Regions from separate parts of the Homo sapiens genome. Here all the other regions are linked to region 4. Evidence: promoter capture Hi-C in 16 types of primary human blood cells and fetal thymus (Javierre and others, 2016). All regions are on one chromosome and are shown on one strand. Each heading gives the region's core, a stretch centred on a gene start or on the middle of the fragment in contact. The rest is flanking DNA. Distances are from core to core; before and after follow the strand shown. Region 1 has its middle 17 kb from the start of HNRNPH2. Region 2 holds the start of GLA (galactosidase alpha). Region 3 holds the start of BTK (Bruton tyrosine kinase). Region 4 holds the start of ARMCX6 (armadillo repeat containing X-linked 6).

Region 1 (3,145 bases), core at 23-2,522, 190 kb after region 4:
TAATAATAATACCTACCTCATAGAGCTGCTTTGGGGATTAAATAAAACACTAGAACACTTAGAGAAGCACTTAGAAAAAAATAAAGCTTGGCTCATAGTAAATTTACCATCAACAACCAGAAGTGAGCCATCAACATTTCTCAGCAGTCCTTCTATTTTTCTCTGGTCAACCTACAACCTGCTCTCACCCTTACAACTCATTGAACCTTCTCCATTCTCTTCAGCCTTCCAACTCCTCCTCCTTATTATCTCTACATGCAGATGACCACACCCTCATTTACAGAAAAAATAACGGGGTTGGGGGAGCCTTTAGAAGGAAGTTGTCTCTCATCTTCCTAACACCAAACATAAACCAACTATACCTGCACACATCCTACCAGCAGTTAGTTCCTCAATTAAGACAGAGATGCTCTTGCCTTTTAGTGAACACTAATTCCTCCACCTATGCTTTCGATTCCAGATGCTCCTCTCTCTTAGCAAACGTACTCTATGATTTATCCCATCTCTCTGCTGTATTTTTAACCACTCACTCCCTACAGACCCTTAATTGTAAACTTTACACATCCACAAAATTTCTCCATTAAAAAAAGTCCTTGGCTGGGTGCAGCAGCTCAAGACTGTAATCCCAGCACTTTGGGAGGCTAAGGCAGGCAGATTGCTTGAGCCCTGGAATTCGAGACCAGACTGGGTAACATGGCAAGACCCCATGTCTACAAAAAATGCAAAAATTAGCCCAGCGTGGTGGTGTGCGCACCTCTAATCCCAGCTACTCAGAAGACTGAAGTGGGAGAATCGCCTGAGCCCAAGAAATCAAGGCTGCAGTGAGCTGTGATTGTGCCACTGCACTCCAGCCTGGGCAACAGCGTGAGACCCTGTCTCAAAAAAATAAATAAATAAATAATTTGAAAGGCCTCTCTTGACCCGTAGTCTCGCTCCTGCTTCTACCCTGACTTTTCCATGCCCTTCACAGCCAAAGTGCTTCAAATAGCTGCCTATATTCTTTGTTTCCATTACTTGCCTACCGGCTGGGCGCAGTACCTCACACCTGTAATCCCAGCACTTTGGGAGGCTGAGGTAGGCGGATCACCTGAGGTAAGGAGTTCAAGACCAGCCTGGCTAACATGGTGAAACCCCGTTTCTACTAAAAATACAAAAAATTAGTCGGGCATGGTGGTGTGCGCCTGTAATCCCAGCTACTCGGGAGGCTGAGGCAGGAAAATTGCTTGAACCCGGGAGGCGGAAGTTGCAGTGAGCCGAGATCGCACCATTGCACTCCAGCTTGGGCAACAAGAGTGAAACTCCGTCTCAAAAAAAAAAAAAAAAAGTGCCTTCCTCTCTCTGCTAACCACACTCCAATCTGTTCCATTCTAGATTTCTGCCCCGTCATTCCATGAAAATAGATCCATCCAGGACACCAATGCCTCCATATTCTTAAATGCAACACATATTTACCAGTCCACATCTTATTTGACCTCTGAGCAGCAATGGACATTGTTAACAGTCCATTCCCTACATCTTGAAACAGTTTCTTTCTTTGGCTTCAATGACACAAGTCCCTCCTAACTTTCTTTTAAACCTCCCTGGCTGCTGTTTCCCAGTCTCCTTTGCAGGCTGACTCTCCTGTACTCCACATGAAATACTGGAGTTTCTCAAGCCTCCTTCTTTGATCTCCTGCATTCTCACTCTGATACTCTTTGGCCTAGACAACCTTATCCCCACACATGGCTTGAATTATCAACTATATCCATATAGCACACAATTTATATATCCAATATATAGGCCCCTTCTGAGCTCTAGATCCATCCATCCAACTACCTATATTCTCTTGGGTGTTCTCAAAGGCACGTCAAACACAGTATGTCTAAGACTAAACTCACAGTCCTCATACCTGAACTTAGTATTCAATGTGATCTTAAAGGTCCTGCTTCTTAATGCTGTTACTCCAAACATCCAGTTGTACAAGCCAGAAACTGAGAAGTCACCCTTGACCGCTCACTCTCACTGTAAGATACAGGGGGGAGTAAACAAAATGTGGATTTTCCTATACTCTCTATTTAATATAGAATGCTTCTGTAGCCCCAGATGTATGGGAGAATTTTCCCATACATCAAGCAATCAGTTTTGCAGTGGACACCAGCTGGATGTCCTCTAATTGAATTCAGTTCTGTTACTACCTACCTGGAGATAGTGTCAGATCCCACAGTTTGAGAGCTCAGGCTCACAAGACTGCTCTCCACTTCAGATGCCAGGTTGTAAGCTATGCTTCTGACTGACCCACTGTAAATCAGGGTTCCCATGACCCTCCCCTTGGGTTTGATTAATTTGCTAGAGAGGGTCACAGAACTCTGAAAAACATGTTTACAGGTTTATTATAAAGGATATTACAAAGCATATAGATGGACAGCCAGATGGAACAATCACATAGGACAAGGTACAGGATAAGGGGCACCAAGCTTCCATGCCCCCTACAAGCACAGCACCCTCTAGGTACCTCCATGTGTTCGCTATCCAGAAGCTCTCCAAACCCAATTCTTTCGGGTTTTTATAGACTTTACAGCCAGGCACGGTGGCTCACGCCTGTAATCCCAGCACTTTGGGAGGCCGAGGTGGGTGGATCACATAAGGTCAGGAGTTCGAGACCAGCCCCACCAACATGGCAAAACCCTGTCTCTACTAAAAATACAAAATTTGCCAGGCGTGGTGGTGCATGCCTGTAATCCCAGCTACTTGGGAGGCTGAGGCAGGAGAATCGCTTGAACCCGTGAGATGGAGGTTGCAGTGAGGCAAGATCACGCCATTATACTCCAGCCTGGGCAACAAGAGTGAGACTCCATCTCAAAATATAAAAATAAAAAATAAATAAAATAGAGGCTTTACTATGTAGGCATGATTGATTACATCATTGGCCACTGCTAGTCAATTTAACCTTCAGCTCCTCTCCCTTCCCCAGAGGCTGGGGGTGTGGTGAAAAAGTCTCAACTCTCTAATCCTGCCTTGACCAGCGCCCCCGTCCTAAATCTACCTAGGAGCCTCAGCCACCAGTTATCTCATTAGCATGCAAAAGATACTTTTTTATTTTTATTTTTATTTTTATTTTTTTGAGACGGAGTTTCACTCTTGTTGCCCAGGCTAGAGTGCAATGGCG
Region 2 (3,137 bases), core at 489-2,988, 210 kb after region 4:
ACCCTATATACTTCTATACAGTTTTAATTCTTTACATTTGCTGTACTGGGATTTTTTCTTTTTAAGTTAGAAAGAACATATTAGTGGTTACTCTGAGTGGGAGGTTTATGGATTTTCCATGTTATTTTTCCAATTTTTTTATGCAGCCTTAAATTTCTACAGAAATAATTACTTTTACTTCAGCAAAAAAAGTAACATAAAACAAATTAAAATGTTTGCATTTCTGGGATTTGGTATAGGAAATTTTATAAAATTTTCTAATTTTGTATGTGGATGGTTTATCTGAAATGGTCTGGGAGCACTGGGCCTCTTGGAAACAAAGTACAAAGTGTAATAACGGCCATAAAACTACACTGAGGAAACGATTTAACAAACATTTACTGATTGCCGATTATGTGCCTAGCACACTGCATCTGCAGTGATAACAGTTTTCCTATTAACCATCCTAAGGTCTCAGTGACAGATTTACAAGCTGTTTTTTTATTTCATTTTGCAGGATTTTTTTTTTTTTTTTTGCTTGCCTTATCCCTGGGATAACCCGTCCCATTTAATTCCCTGCACCGCTCTATTCCTTAAGAGCCCTTCTGTAGGGGCAGAGAGGTTCTACTTCATTACTGCGTCTCCTGGGAAGGCCATCAGGACTGCTGGCTAAAGTGGGAACCAGGACTCTTTGTGAGTTAAGAATTTGTGTATTTATATGTGTGTTATACACATTTTTTAAAAAACTGTAACGACATCAGGTTGAGCAGTCGTCTCCGGGTGGTGAATTATGTGTATTTTTAAATTTTATACTATATTGTTATTTTTCAAATGTTCGAAATTGAATATGTAGATTGTTGTTATCAGCAGAAAAATAAACATTATTCAAATACTCTATTCAGTAAAGTAATTTATTGGGCGCCTTTGTCAAGCACGCATTTGCCTAGATGTGACTCTACAGATAAAATTCACTTGGGGCCTCCCCTTACAGACAATCAGGCAGTGGAGACTGAGTGCCTGAATGGATAGACCAGCACTCAGACCACTATTTTCAGTATCTGTTTTTCTTAACTCAGGGCCGTGGTTTTCAAACGTTTTTCGCCTTACGGTCACCCTTAGGGGTCCCCCGAGACCGGCCCAGACAGACAGATATACAAAAACACATACACAGTCATGAGCGTCCACCATTTCCCCACCAGGCGCAGCACAGGCGGCTTCCCGGCACTGAGATGGGGGGGAGGAGGGAGAGAGCGCGAGGGGGGAGGGGAAAGCAGAGAACGAAAGAGGCGGAGGCGGCCCCCGAACCCCGCTCTGGTCTTCATCATCACCACCCCTGGGTCCCCAGTTCCCACCCACACACCAACCTCTAACGATACCGGGTAATTTTCCTCCTTCTTCCCTCAAACGGCTATAGCGAGACGGTAGACGACGACCAGAACTACTTCTGCTCACGTAAGCGAGTAATCACGTGAGCGCCTACGTCATGTGAGATCTCGGTCACGTGAGCAACTCTCGGCTTAAACTCGGGATCACTAAGGTGCCGCACTTCCTTCTGGTATGGAAATAGGGCGGGTCAATATCAAGAAAGGAAGAGGGTGATTGGTTAGCGGAACGTCTTACGTGACTGATTATTGGTCTACCTCTGGGGATAACCGTCCCAGTTGCCAGAGAAACAATAACGTCATTATTTAATAAGTCATCGGTGATTGGTCCGCCCCTGAGGTTAATCTTAAAAGCCCAGGTTACCCGCGGAAATTTATGCTGTCCGGTCACCGTGACAATGCAGCTGAGGAACCCAGAACTACATCTGGGCTGCGCGCTTGCGCTTCGCTTCCTGGCCCTCGTTTCCTGGGACATCCCTGGGGCTAGAGCACTGGACAATGGATTGGCAAGGACGCCTACCATGGGCTGGCTGCACTGGGAGCGCTTCATGTGCAACCTTGACTGCCAGGAAGAGCCAGATTCCTGCATCAGGTATCAGATATTGGGTACTCCCTTCCCTTTGCTTTTCCATGTGTTTGGGTGTGTTTGGGGAACTGGAGAGTCTCAACGGGAACAGTTGAGCCCGAGGGAGAGCTCCCCCACCCGACTCTGCTGCTGCTTTTTTATCCCCAGCAAACTGTCCCGAATCAGGACTAGCCCTAAACTTTCTCTGTGTGACCTTTCCTGGGATGGGAGTCCGGCCAGCGGCCCCTGTTTCTTTCTCTCTCTCTCTCTCTCTCGTTCTCCTTCTCTTTCTCTTTCTCTTCTTTCCTCTCTCTTTCTCTCTCTCCCTGCCCGGTTCTCTTTTTTCACTGCTCCTTGCAGAGCAGGGCCACCCCATAGGCAGTGTGCCCAAAGTAGCCCTGCCCGGTTCTATTCAGACCCTTCTTGTGAACTTCTGCTCTTCCTCTGCCGGGTGCTAACCGTTAGAACATCTAGGGTGGGTAGGAGGAATGGGGAACTAAGATTCGTGCCATTTTTTCTCCTTTTGGGGTCGTGGATTTCTCGGCAGTATCTCGAGGGAGTTAGAGAGACCATAAGGTCGCTGAGATCTCTCCCACCTCGCCCATGAGCGTGGCATCAGGCTGGAAGGTTGACATGGAGGAACTTTATACATTTACACCTTTGCGTGAGGGTTGAGGCTGGATTAGATAGGTATTGAACATATCTGACCCTCACAATCCTTATCTGTAAATTGGGATTACAACCTTTTAATTTCAGGGAGCTGACAAAAAAAATCTGAAAAATAGTTCTTATCTCACACAGGTGAGTTTTCAAGGAGATAACCTATTTAAAGTACATAGCACAGCGCTTGACCATTCAACTGCGCTTACAGAGCAAATGTTCAATGGGAAAATGAATGTAAATCTACAAATCTGAATGAATATGTGTATTTTTCTGGAGAGAGGATATTTACCTTTCTTCAAATTCTCAAAGGGCTCTGTGATTTAAAAAAGGTTAGGAATCACTGATAGATGTTGGTAAAAGGTGGCAGTCACAGTACATTTCTGTGTCCATAAGTTATTCCTATGAATATCTTTATAGATAAAGTCAGGATGTTGGTCAGACATCACAGAAGAAATTGGCCTTGTAAGTTTCATGTGACCCTGTGGTACAGTATGTGTGGCAATTTTGCCCATCACGGATTTTTTTTTATTGGTATTTGCATCTGATTA
Region 3 (3,114 bases), core at 113-2,612, 230 kb after region 4:
TAGTGAAACCCCATCTCTACAAAAAGTAGAAAAATTAGCCCAGCACAGTGATGTGTGCCTATAGTCCCAGGTACTAGGGTGACTGAGGTGAGAGGATCACTTGAGCCCAGGAGGTGGAGGCTGCAGTGAGCCATGATCACGCCACTGCACTCCAACCTGGGCTTCAGAGCAAGACCCTGTCTCAAAAAAAAAAAAAAAAAAAAAAGGTCCCAGGGCCTGTTGGGGCTTGGGGGTGAGGGGAGGGATCTTAGAGGATGGGTCAATAGGTGCAGCAAATCACCATGTCACACATATACCTATGTAACAAACTTGCACCTTCTGCACATATACCCCATTTTTTTTGTTTGCTTGTTTGTTTGTTTTTTAGACAAAATAAAGAAAAAAAAATAAGGTCCTGTTGACTTAAAACTTCGGATGAAATTGTAGTGGGACCTGTGATCTGTTTCTACATTAGGATACAGTGCCTTGGGGCAAGGAAATATGGCAGTGCCCGAGGTGTCAAGGTGGGCAGGCAGATCAGTCAGCAGGGGCTCCACCATCATGGTCTGCATTCAATACTGGCTGCATTTCCTAGGAGAATCCCTGGGGGAATCATTGCAGTTGGAGCATAATGTAGGGGGCCCCTGAGAAAACCTCCAGGCTTCAAGTGACATACCTAGTCTGCTTTACCGGTTTACAGGACTCAAGAGAAAGGTGGACATTGAGAGTTAATCCCTGAGGCCAAATCTTAAATGGAGAAAGTCAACATCCACAGAAAATGGGGAAGGGCACAAGTATTTCTGTGGGCTTATATTCCGACATTTTTATCTGTAGGGGAAAAATGCTTTCTTAGAAAATGACTCAGCACGGGGAAGTCTTGTCTCTACCTCTGTCTTGTTTTGTCCTTTGGGGTCCCTTCACTATCAAGTTCAACTGTGTGTCCCTGAGACTCCTCTGCCCCGGAGGACAGGAGACTCGAAAAACGCTCTTCCTGGCCAGTCTCTTTGCTCTGTGTCTGCCAGCCCCCAGCATCTCTCCTCTTTCCTGTAAGCCCCTCTCCCTGTGCTGACTGTCTTCATAGTACTTTAGGTATGTTGTCCCTTTACCTCTGGGAGGATAGCTTGATGACCTGTCTGCTCAGGCCAGCCCCATCTAGAGTCTCAGTGGCCCCAGTCATGTTGAGAAAGGTTCTTTCAAAGATAGACTCAAGATAGTAGTGTCAGAGGTCCCAAGCAAATGAAGGGCGGGGACAGTTGAGGGGGTGGAATAGGGACGGCAGCAGGGAACCAGATAGCATGCTGCTGAGAAGAAAAAAAGACATTGGTTTAGGTCAGGAAGCAAAAAAAGGGAACTGAGTGGCTGTGAAAGGGTGGGGTTTGCTCAGACTGTCCTTCCTCTCTGGACTGTAAGAATATGTCTCCAGGGCCAGTGTCTGCTGCGATCGAGTCCCACCTTCCAAGTCCTGGCATCTCAATGCATCTGGGAAGCTACCTGCATTAAGTCAGGACTGAGGTGGGTCTGGGGTATGGCAGGGGCTGGGCAGCAGCAGCAATGTACCTTGCTTGGGACCCCTAAAAACCAGAGAGACAGCATGGCTGGTGCCATTTATCAGCTAGTGGAGGAGGCTGACGGAGGGTGGGAGTGTCATCAGCACAAGGCCCTGGCAGTCCCTTCTGGTGATTAGAGAGGCCGAAAGGGTCCTTTCCGACAAGGGCTGAGGGTGGGCGGAACAGGAAGAGAAAAATGTGACATGAGGTGACCATCCGAACAGGTAGCAAATGTTAGAAAGGGGTACCTCTGGCAAACTTAGTGGAAAAGTAATATTGCAGGGAGCAGTCAGATAAAAACAAGCCCTTCTGTCAAATAGTGCTTGAAGACTCAATAGGGATACATGGGTCAATGAAGCCTTTAGAAAAAGAAATACTAAGAGGCAGATTCTCTGAGAACATGGTAAAAGCTCACGCTCCACGTTATGAAGTTGACCTTTGTGAGCTAGGGAAAGGCCTGGCTAGGCCAGGGTGTAGGCTACCTGCCTTGAGCTGTACCAGGCCAAATGTCGCCAGGGTCAGAGCTGGCTTATTAAAGGACTGTGTGGAAGCTGTGCCAACCTCGTGGTAACAATGGGTAAAAGACTGGGCCAGGAGAAAGCAGCCTCTGCCTCAGCCCAGACAGTGCGGCCAACCCTTGAGGTTGTGGCAAAGGTTTCTCCTCTTACCATTGCCCTCCATGTGCATGGCTTGCTTTTCTCTTGTCTTCATTATTTCTCCTTTCCTTTCCTCCTCTCCAACCTCCTCCTCTTCCCACTCATCCTCTTTTCTCTACCTATATCCCCTCTTCATTATACCCTCCTCTGTTCTGTTGATTACCAGACCCTGACATACAGTTAGCACTTAACAAATAATTGCCGAATTGCATTGACTTTTTCTTGCTCCTTTCTTCCCCCGCTCTTTTCCCTTTTCCTTTCCCTTTCCATTTCCTCCTCCCTGCCTGCCTAGCACCTTCCCCATAAGGTGGTTGTGAGCAGTAAATGTGCAAATACATGTAAAGCTTTTAAAACAGGGCCTGGCAATAGTAAGTGCTGGATCTCAGTATTTGCTATAATTTTTACTCTGCCTCAGACCTGCCAATGTCCCCCAGAGGGCCTACCTAGAGCAAATAATATGACATTTAGAATAAAAGTGATTGGTGACCCCAATCAAGACATCCTTGGATAAGTTGCCCAGACTCCAGCCTCTCTGGAGCCTCAGTTATTTGATAAAATAATGTCACTTTCCAAATAAGCCACAAAATGCAAATACTCATGGCAACCTAAAGCATTATACCCAAACAGTGTCCCTTAGGGCTTGTCCTGTCTATTCTGACTCCTTTTATATTCAAACTATTTAAACTGCTTGCTTGTGTTGAAGTCCAAATTTCCATTGCGTATGGCTATTGATATTTTTGTTTGGAATTTTTTTTTTTTTTTTTTGACACGGAGTTTCACTCTTGCTGCCCAGGCTGGAGTGCAATGGCACGATCTCGGGATCTCAGCTCACCGCAACCTCCGCCTCCCGGGTTCAAACAATTCTCCTGCCTCAGCCTCCCAAGTAGCTGGGATTACAGGCATGTGCCACCACGCCCAGCTAATTTTGTATT
Region 4 (2,986 bases), core at 44-2,543:
TGAGGGGAAAAAATGACACAGACATCAGGGGTGTTGCACTGATTCCCAGTCACCCACAGACCCTCACCACCATCTCCACTGGAAAATGCTGAACACTCACCACTGCTAGGGTAGCATAAAATACATGAATGGCAGACAACAGAGAGATCGCCAACAGTGTCATGATGGAAAGAAAATTACCTCTATCAAGTCTCATTTTCATCAATAGGATAACAGGAAATTCTCTAATTTCTGGAAGATTTATAGGTTGCACCACAAACTTCAGAATAGATTGTAAATAAAGCCCTGTGAATGAAAGGCAGGCTAATCTGTGGAGTCACTAATCTGTAAAGTTCATCTGAAGATGTAAGATTCATCTGAAGTTGGGGTCTGCATAAAATCTGTCCTTTGAAGCCAGAGTGAAAGTCACCCAGCAATCTTCTATGAAGATCTCAGTCATCTGACACCTAATACTATGAGTTCAGCCAGGAGAAAGAAAGGGACAATAGTTCACTTACTTAAAATGGTCAAAATTAGAACACTGACCTTCTCGGTATAGATTCATTTATCCATCAATTTATAAATCATGTTGAAAGCACAACTGGTTTTGTTTCTAAGGGTGTGTTTTTACATTTTAATATGTTGTTTGAAAGCTGCTATTTCCTGTGCAGTCCGAAGAAAATATGTTCAACTTGATACAAACTAACTTCATCAAATCAATGAGGCCTCCTATTAACTGGGAAATCTTGCTTATGTTATATATATATATATCTGTAAAAAAAAAAAAAGATTTGAATTATTTCTTCTCCAAGTGGGAAAAGCTTTATTGTTTTTTTCCGATTACAAAATAGTGTAGTTCAAGTCAATAAAAAAGAAAGGACAAAATATAACTTAAATGTTATCAAAATACTAATTAAAATCTCACCACTGCCTGGACTTCCGTTTCTGCCCCCTCACCCAATGTTGGTGTAGAGACTGAACACGGAAAAGTGTAGAAATTTAAGAAAGGGGCTGCAGAAGTTTCAGAGCCAAGGAAAGGATGAGACAATTCCCCAAGAAGTGTAAATGAAGGGTAGACTCAGGAAAAGATGCTGCCCCTTCCTAAAGATGCTGCCCCTTCCTGGAATTAGAGAAACATAAATTCAAACACCAGAAAGACAGGGCCACTTCTGGTTTCTGGTATTGTTACAGAGGAAAAAAGTGACAGGGCCCACTGTGGGGGTTGAGGGGGAGATACAAGGCAGGCTGGCGCCTGCCGCACTGCTTGTGGGAGTGGAAATTGGGGGCCAGAGCGCACTGGTGACGTGGCCGTCACGTGACCAAGAGCCGCCTAGAGCACAAGTCCTGCTAGTCGCCTCCGTCTGGGTACCAGCCCCCTATTACTCTGCAGGCGTGTGAAGAAAGAAGGAAACTAGCTCGGACCGTGCAGGTCGGTGCGAGGGTGGGCGCTGCTTGAGAGGAGGTATGGGTGGAAGAGGGCCAAGAACGCCACAGATCCGAGTTCAGGCCGATCACAGCTGGGTCCCTTTCTCGCCTACTTTCTAAATACTGCTACCCACCCCCACCCCACCCCGTGCTCATTTTAGTAGAGAGAAGTGGCGGGTTTCGGGTGGGGGTGAGGGGAGTGAATGGCGTTTCCAGAGACTCCGAGAAAAGAAAGGTTCTAGTGTCCCGGGTGCTGGTCCGTCCACCAAGCACTCCGTCCCCTCGGTCCCTTGTCTGTTTGCAGGTTTGTAGGTCTGTTGGCCTGTAGGTTTCGGCACAAGTTTCAGCGAGAGAAGGAGAAAACTGCCTTGGTTGGAACCTTGCAGGTCAGTGTGAAGGTGGGATTAGCCCAGGACCATGGGTGGGGGTGGCGGAGGAGGGGGGCTGGGATATGAGAGGGCCAGGTCCGAGTCGCCCTCTCCTGGCCCCTTCTTTCTCCACACCCACTCCCATTTCAGTGCAGGGAAAGGGGTGTGGCGGCCTTTGCTGGGGAAATGGCGGACGACAAGTGGGGCGGAGGAGGCCTGCGTCCGGAAAGTCAGTAGAGTATGAGAAATATTTTAAACTCAAGTGTCTAAAATTCACAAAAACAGAAATTGGGACCTGTGTCCTCAGTTCATCCACTACACTTTCATTTCTCCATTGCCGCCTACCTGTCTTTGCATTTGTCCTTCTGCCAGACTCTATCCTCTATCACCGTGGAGGGACCACTGACAACAGAAGACAAGGGAAAACGAAGGAATTTATCTGACTTTGGTAGAGGTTAATGAGAGAAACTGCCCTTAATCTTTGGGGGTGGAGGTCTGGTGTAGGAGACTACCTGAGAGGTACTCACACTGTCACCCTCCTAGCTATCATAGCAGAGACCCATCTCCTGCCCTTCCCTGTGGACCCAGGAAGAGAAATGGGGGCTCCTGAGGTCGATAGAGGAAGACAGAAAAGAAAAGAACAAAGAAATTGTATCCTGTTAATCTGCCTTTATCACCAACTCGAAATCCACCCTGTCTGTGAGGCACAAAGCCAAACATAGTCCCGAGCCCTAATACTCTGTTTCACCCACAGATTCATCACAAGAGAGCTACAAGAGCCTGGAAGAAGCTGAAGACTGCTACCCTCCATCCTTACTCACCCTGGACCTGAGAGACCTCTTCAATCAGGTGGAGCAAGGCCCTCTCCTGTCCTGCCCCAAGGCTGGCACAGACTTGAGCATGGGCCGGGCTCGGGAAGTGGGTTGGATGGCGGCAGGACTGATGATTGGGGCTGGTGCCTGCTACTGCGTTTACAAACTGACCATAGGAAGAGATGACAGTGAGAAGCTGGAGGAGGAGGGGGAAGAGGAGTGGGACGATGACCAGGAGCTGGATGAGGAGGAGCCTGATATTTGGTTTGATTTTGAAACTATGGCTCGGCCCTGGACTGAGGATGGGGATTGGACTGAACCTGGGGCCCCAGGTGGCACTGAGGACAGGCCCTCAGGGGGAGGCAAGGCCAACCGAGCACACCCAATAAAACAGCGGCCATT

What was found. Contacts are between HindIII fragments. The CHiCAGO score rates a contact against its expected background, and 5 or more counts as called.
Region 1: a fragment that was not itself captured here is called in contact with the fragment with the promoter of ARMCX6 in region 4 in 1 of 17 cell types (neutrophils); the score reaches 6.6 in neutrophils.
Region 2: the fragment with the promoter of GLA here is called in contact with the fragment with the promoter of ARMCX6 in region 4 in 15 of 17 cell types (total CD8 T cells, activated CD4 T cells, M1 macrophages and 12 more); the score reaches 9.3 in total CD8 T cells.
Region 3: a contact is called between the fragment with the promoter of BTK here and the fragment with the promoter of ARMCX6 in region 4, in 13 of 17 cell types (monocytes, total B cells, fetal thymus and 10 more). The highest score is 10.6, in monocytes.

The regions. Positions count from the first base shown.
Region 1 is chrX:101,423,573-101,426,717 of GRCh38, reverse strand. It overlaps a transcript of ARMCX4 not described here. Among named protein-coding and RNA genes, the nearest start is that of HNRNPH2, 17 kb to the right of the region's middle. The HindIII fragment of the contact is 2,367 bases long and covers 89-2,455 here.
Region 2 is chrX:101,406,526-101,409,662 of GRCh38, reverse strand. It overlaps GLA (galactosidase alpha), which reads left to right and starts at 1,738. Exons shown (of 7, transcript NM_000169.3): 1 at 1,738-1,953. The coding sequence starts at 1,760. All of the region lies in intron 3 of RPL36A-HNRNPH2 (RPL36A-HNRNPH2 readthrough), which reads right to left. It overlaps HNRNPH2 (heterogeneous nuclear ribonucleoprotein H2), which reads right to left and starts at 1,441. Exons shown (of 2, transcript NM_019597.5): 1 at 1,344-1,441. The HindIII fragment of the contact is 11,084 bases long and covers 1-3,137 here.
Region 3 is chrX:101,384,439-101,387,552 of GRCh38, reverse strand. It overlaps BTK (Bruton tyrosine kinase), which reads left to right and starts at 1,362. Exons shown (of 19, transcript NM_000061.3): 1 at 1,362-1,491. RefSeq lists an enhancer at 1,876-2,095. The HindIII fragment of the contact is 7,609 bases long and covers 1-2,528 here.
Region 4 is chrX:101,616,307-101,619,292 of GRCh38, reverse strand. It overlaps ARMCX6 (armadillo repeat containing X-linked 6), which reads left to right and starts at 1,293. Exons shown (of 3, transcript NM_019007.4): 1 at 1,293-1,408; 2 at 1,709-1,790; 3 at 2,527-2,986. The coding sequence starts at 2,673. The HindIII fragment of the contact is 4,525 bases long and covers 803-2,986 here.